2 separate regions of the Homo sapiens genome follow, and region 1 is linked to region 2. The links are contacts of gene promoters, found by promoter capture Hi-C in blood cells and fetal thymus (Javierre and others, 2016). All regions are on one chromosome and are shown on one strand. The core of a region is centred on a gene start or on the middle of the fragment in contact, and the rest is flanking DNA. Distances in the headings are between cores, read along the strand shown.

Evidence for each region. The method cuts DNA at HindIII sites, captures the fragments that hold promoters and counts their contacts. A CHiCAGO score of 5 or more calls a contact.
Region 1: a contact is called between a fragment that was not itself captured here and the fragment with the promoter of MYO1D in region 2, in 5 of 17 cell types (naive CD4 T cells, naive CD8 T cells, fetal thymus and 2 more). The highest score is 7.4, in naive CD4 T cells.

Annotation. Positions count from the first base shown.
Region 1 is chr17:32,471,199-32,474,358 of GRCh38, forward strand. It overlaps PSMD11 (proteasome 26S subunit, non-ATPase 11), which reads left to right. Exons shown (of 14, transcript NM_002815.4): 7 at 2,603-2,747. Among named protein-coding and RNA genes, the nearest start is that of CDK5R1, 14 kb to the right of the region's middle. The HindIII fragment of the contact is 3,588 bases long and covers 10-3,160 here.
Region 2 is chr17:32,875,473-32,878,912 of GRCh38, forward strand. It overlaps MYO1D (myosin ID), which reads right to left and starts at 1,652. Exons shown (of 22, transcript NM_015194.3): 1 at 1,306-1,652. The coding sequence starts at 1,400. It overlaps MYO1D-DT (MYO1D divergent transcript), which reads left to right and starts at 1,383. Exons shown (of 4, transcript NR_184086.1): 1 at 1,383-1,421; 2 at 2,372-2,489; 3 at 2,828-3,163. RefSeq lists silencers at 988-1,977, 1,184-1,371. The HindIII fragment of the contact is 7,647 bases long and covers 359-3,440 here.

The sequences.
Region 1 (3,160 bases), core at 554-3,053, 400 kb before region 2:
TGCCTCCCAAGCTTGGAAAGAACTAATTTTTATGTTATCCCAAGTGATAGCATAGGTTGGCAGTAGTAGCAGGTTCAATCAAAGTTAAGCTCATTGGGAGCAACTCAACTTCTAAGCAATAGGGGATTGGTTAGGTCAACTATGGTATATCAGTCTGAAGAAATACTGCTTAGCCATGTATAATTAAGTTCATGGATTTGGCATTATGTGAAAGCTGTACACTGAGTGCATTTAGGCAAAAGCACATCCACAAATGATAAATATTTGAAATGAAAATATAAGATGTTGGATTCCCTCTCCCATGCCCCATGACAGTTGCATAAATATAAAACTATCAGGCTTAGAAAAGCTATCTTAAAGTAGTTAATATTATTAGAACAGGTCATTCAGGCAGTCTAGAGATGTTTAGGTCAACTCCCTGACCTGTGAATGTGATGTCATGGAGGGTAAACATGGCCTTTTCCTGTGGCTCCAAAAGATAGCAGGACTGGAATGGTGGTGAGAAGCATGGAAGAAAGATGGTACAGTATGTGTTTTTCAGGTCCCTTTTAAGTTGAGTCTCTAACTCCTTTGGGAACTTATATTGGCAATATGACATTGAGCTGGGAGGTCAGAGACTTGGATTCTCATCTTCTAATCTCAGCTGTCAAATTGCTGACTATGGTGACTTTGGGCAGGTTTTTTTTTTTTTAGACGGTCTCACTTTTTCACCCATGCTGCAGTGCATTTTTGCTATCACAGCTCCCATCGCTATCATCAGCCTCCCAGGCTCACGTGATCCTCCTACCTCAGTCTCATGAGTAAGTAGCTGGGGCTACAGGCATGTGCCACCACGCCTGGCTAATTTTTTGTAGAGATGGGGTTTCACCCTGTTGCCTAGGCTGGTCTTGAGCTCCTAGGTTCAGGTGATCCACCTGCCTTGGCCTCCCAAAGTGTTGAGATTACAGATGTGAGCCACTGTGCCTGGCAGAGCAGGTTCTTTATCCTTTCCTGACCTCATCAGTAGGTTGGTGGAGTTGACGTAGAGTTTTTTTTTTTTTTTGAGACAGTGTCTTGCTCTGTTGCCCAGGCTGGAGTGCAGTGACGTGACCTCGGCTCACTGCAACCTCTACCTCCTGGATTCAAGTGATTCTCCTGCCTCAGCCACCTGAGTAGCTGGGATTACAGGCATGTACCACCAAGGCCGGCTAATTTTTGTATTTTTAGTAGAGATGGCGTTTTGCCTTGTTGGCCAAGCTGATCTCGATCTCCTGACCCTCAAGTGATCTGGCTGCCTTGGCCTCCCAAAGTGCTGGGATTATAGACGTTAGAGTTTACAGACGTGAGCCACTGTGCCTGACCTCTTTTTTTTTTTTTTAAGACGGAGTCTCACTCTGTCGCCCAAGTTGGAGTGCTGTGGCGTGATCTCAGCTCACTGCAACCTCCACCTCCTGGGTTCAAGAGATTCTCCTGCCTCAGCCTCCCAAGTAGCTGGGATTACAGGTGCCCGCCACCATGCCTGGCTGGTTTAGTATTTTTAGTAGAGACAGGTTTTTACCATGTTGGCCAGGCTGGTCTTGAAATCCTGACCTCAGATGACCCTCCTGCTTCTGCCTCCCAAAGTGCTGGGATTACAGGCATGAGCCACCATGCCCGGCCTTTTTCTTTTTTTTTTTTTTTTTTAAGAGACAAGGTCGGCTGGGTGTGGTGGCTCACACCTGTAATCCCAGCACTTTGGGAAGCCGAGGCGGGTGGATCACTTGAGGTCAGGAGTTCAAGACTAGCCTGGCGAACATACGGTGAAACCAGTCTCTACTAAAAATACAAAAAATTAGCCGGGCGTGGTAGTGGGTGCCTGTAATCCCAGCTACTTGGGAGGCTGAGGCAGGAGAATTGCTTGAACCCACGAGGCGGAGGTTGCCGTGAGCTGAGATTGCGCCATTGCACTCCAGCCTCAGTGACAGAGTGAGACTCGGCTCAAAAAAAAAAATAAAGAGACAACATCTAACTCTGTTACTTAGGCTCAAACTCTTGGGCTCAAGCTATCCTCCTGCCTCAGCCTCTCAAAAGTGCCGAGATTACAGGAGTGAACCCCTGCACCTGGCTTTTTTTTTTTGAGACGGAAGTTTGCCCTTGTTGCCCAGGCTGGAGTGCAGTGGCGCAATCTCGGCTCACCGCAACCTCCGCTTCCTGGGTTGAAGTGATTCTCCTTCCTCAGCCTCCCGAGTAGCAGGGATTACAGGCATGCGCTACCACACCCAGCTAATTTTTTTTGTAATTTTAGTAGAGATGGGATTTGTCCATGTTGGTCAGTCTGATCTTGAGCTCCTGACCTCAGGTGATCCGCCTGCCTCAGCCTCCCAAAGTGCTGGGATTATAGGCGTGAGCTGAAACCGTGCCCAGCATTTTTTTTTTTTTCAAGAGATGGGGTCTTACTATGTTACTCAGGCTTGTCTCGAACTCCTGGGCTCACATGATCCTCCCATCTCAGCCTCCCAAAGTGTGGATTTACAGGTGTGAGCCACCGTGCCCATTTAGGTAGATGTCTAAGCTGCCTCCCAGCTCTGATCTTTTATGGCTCTATTATTTTATATGTTCTTATTCCTTTCTTTTCAATGCCCAGGTATTATCCATGCAGCAGAAGAGAAGGACTGGAAAACTGCGTACTCATACTTCTATGAGGCATTTGAGGGTTATGACTCCATCGACAGCCCCAAGGCCATCACATCTCTGAAGTACATGTTGCTGTGCAAAATCATGCTCAACACGTAGGTGCACCTTAACTCTGGACTACAAGAACTCAGATCCTTCAGCAAGTCTGTTTGCCATGGCAGAGATGGCCTGAGCAGGGAGTTTGGCCAGTTACAGAAACAGCAGCAGCTGCGGCCTCTAGGGCTGGCTAAGGTAGAGCGGGAGGATCAAAAGTGGTCCAGAAAACTTTCGCTTGCTAGTCTTTCAGAATCAGGCAGACATTTTAGAAATCCCCTTCCCAGCTCCTCTTGGAGAATTCTCCTCATCCTTTAAATATTCTGTCCTCATAGGTGCAGAGCACAGGACAGAGGGTCAGGAAATAGCTTACAGATCAGCCAGTAACAGCCAACTGAGCCACCCAGAATGAGGAAGGAAGGGTTAAGGAGAGGTTTGAAAAAGTGGACAACAAAAGTATGACAGACCTACTTAT
Region 2 (3,440 bases), core at 402-2,901:
TAAGTAACTTGCTCAAAGATCACAGCAAGAATGCAGTGGAACTAGAATTTGAATCTCAACAGTCTGACTCTTAATCACTATGATAATGGGTATTGGTTATAGCTGATGTAGAGGTATATCATTTTGATTAATATTTGGGGTGATTTCTATAAAAGTTGTACATCCAAACCTTGATCAGAAATGTAACATCCTATCATTATGCTGGTATGTAATCAACCTGATTGACCCCTGTCAACTGGATTGACAGGGGTAGTTAATAATGAAATTAGGGTTAAGCACCCAAGCCTAGATTATGACTTTCACTTTATAAGCTTAAGGAATGATGTTTAGCTATAAACCTTAGAAGAAATGCAGCCAAAGCTTGCAGGGAAACATACACACGCACACCAAAACTCAGCTATTTTGAAATTCCACTTACTTTAATGTTTAAGTCAAACTACTTTAAAACTGTTTACATATTACTCTATCAAGGGTGAAATAATCGCATGTAAAGGGCTTTCTAAAACAAATCCACATCTTGGAAGCCCATTTTGGGGCGTTGAGTTGTGACTACGTTCTCAAGGATGTTAATAACACAAGAGCTCCATCCACTAACTCCTTGAAAAAAACCAAAACCATGAACGTCTTGTCAAATTCAGACAGTTTATCTTGGCACTGGCAAGTACAGCAGTCTCTTCGATGTCTGGAAACGTGTCTAATTACGTTTAGAGAGTAACTAAAAAAATAGCCAGTGTCCCGGAACAGACAGCTCAGGGATCACTCCATAGCATCCTGAATGACAGGATGGAACTACGCCAGGAGGAAAAAAAAAAGAAGGGCGAAGAAAGAAAGAAAAGAAGCAAGTGTAAAGCCGGGATGAGACGCCAGCCTCTCTCCAAAATAATCCTCCAGTCCTCCTAGGGCCTTCGGGGCCACCGCAACTCTCGTTCAAGTTATTTCCCTTCAGTTTCCATGAGGTCACCGGCCCGCCCACATCCCTCACCTGGCGCGGGGAAGCGCGCCCTCCCGCGCGGCACACCCTCTGCACCTAAACCCCGGACAGCGCCCAGGGCTCCCCTCTCAGGGAAGCGCGGCCCTTGAGCTCGACACGCCCCCCGCACCCCAAAGCGGCCGCACCCCAGGGGCGTCCGCTCTCGGGAAAGCGCAGCCGCGGAGCTTGGCAGACCCCCGGACACCGCAGCCCGGCCGCGCCTCCATCCCTGGAGCTTGGGCGCTCCCGACACCCCGGATCCGGCCGCGCCCCGAGGCGCCCCCTCTCGGGAAAGCGCAGCCTCGCGCCCCTGCGCGCGGCCGCTCCGCCCTCACCTGAGCCTGAGGTTGGCCATGAACTCGGGCATGGAGACGGTGTCCATCAGCACGAAGTCTGCCTTGCCGAATTCCAGGCTCTCCTGCTCCGCCATGGCGCCAGCGCGGGGGCTCAGGTGGGCGCGCTCGGGCCTCCGGGGCCGCTCCGTGGGCCCGCGATGAGCTCGGGAGGGGCCGGGGCGAGGCCGCGCCGCGAGGCTACGGGGAGGGGGCGCGCACGCCGCTCGGCGGGTCCGGGCCGGACAGAGGCCGCCTCGCTGCTCCTCGGCGCCTTCTCGGCCGGCGCGGCTCCGAACGGGACGCACCCGACAGTTTCCGCTCCTCCCGCCGCGGCTGCCGGGCGCTGTAGGGGCCGGGACACCGAGACGGAGACGGCAGCGGCTGGTCCCGCCTCCAGCCTGGGGCTCGTCCCGGCTCCGCCCCGCCCGGGCCTCCCGGCTCCGCCCCTCCCGGCCCACTGAGGAGCCCGCCCCAGCCGCGGCCCTGGCCGCCGCCTCTTCACCTGGGCGGCGCGCACGCGCGGGTGGGCGGCGGGGACGCGCGCTGGGCCGGGCGGCGGCAGCTGGGTGGCAGCGCCCCCTGGGGACAGGCGCTGGGATCTCAGGCGGCCAAGAGGATGGCCGCCTGCCGCCCACACTTGGTAGCTGCCAACAAAGTTAGAAAAGTAGTTCGTGGAGCTTTTCGCGAGGACAATTCATTATGATTCTGTCACCCTGCTCCAAAACCCACTCCCGCCTCTCTACTCACACCCTGCCCATTCTTGAAGTGGTGGTTCAAGCACAGACTGAGAGGTAATAATAATGGCTAACATTTTTGGGGCACCAAAAATGCCCAGAGCTGTTCTCAGCGCCTTAGAGAACTTTTAAGAAACTTGCCATACGACTAGGAAGTGGAGCAGCTGCGGTTTCACGCAGGTCATTTGACTTAGGAGCCGCAGCGTTCAACCACGTCTGACTACCTCCATTCTTCAGTGGCCCATTTTCTCTTCCACTCATCCGAGCATGTCATCAGACATTACCTTATATGATTATTAAGTTTTTAATATATCTTTGTATCATCTCTCCAGGATTATTGCGGATGTCTTGAGCATGGGACCATTCTTTTTGCATCCACCAAATAACTATTGTACTACTTTGCATATATAAATATGAAATCCATACTGGTTCAGTGGAATGAAGTGAGTTGTAAGTAGTCTCCAATTTATTGATACATTGGTTGAGCTTGGAAAATTCTTTTTGAACTCAATGTATTTTCCCAAAGAAAATATACTACAAATGACTTTCTTTCTTTTTTTTTTTTTTTTCTTTTTCTGGAGACAAATTCTCCCTCTGTCACCCAGGCTGGAGTGCAGTGGTGCAATCACAGCTCACTGCAACCTCAAACTCCTGGGCTCAAGCAATCCTCCAGCCTCAGCCTCCTGAGCAGCTGGGACTACAGGTGTATGACACCATGCCCAGCTATTTTTTTTAAATAAATGACTTTCTAAGGTATCTACATTTATTCAGTCCTGTGTTTCTGTTAGGACATCTTCTATTACAAAATCTACGAGGAAATCTAGAGGCCTCCAAGGACCTGGCTGGGCTTCAACTCTGGCTGAGTTTGAGATGAGTAAACCAGACTGAAGGACCTTGCCCAAGGCCTGCTTCAGCTGCCAGCCACCCACACTTGCTAAGAGAAAGGAAAGGAGCTTTGTCACCTCCTGAGGGACTGCCTCTGCCATCAGAAAACCACCCCAATCCCTGGCACCAGCAGAGCTGGGTTGCATCTGACTACCGTTAGCAGCTGTCCTTCAGAAGGAGGAGATCCACCTGTCTCGATATCAGTGTCCTCATTTGTGGAATAAAAGCTCTGGAATAAGGTAGGACTGTCCTATGGTTGGGTCATTTGTGGAGGTGTCGGTCAGTGGCTAAGTAGGTTATTGCATAGGGTATGGTTGTATTCCTAATGTTTGTATTGGCATGTTTTAACATAAGCAGAACTGAACTTCAAGAAGGAAAGAAAGAAATCTCAAACTGTATGCACTTTGGAGCATCCAGGGACCACACCCCAAAACCTTTTGGTAAATTATATATGTGTGTTCCCTGAGCTCTGTAGGTGTTAAAAATTAGGGCAAAATCCCAGGTACCAGGAAAAGA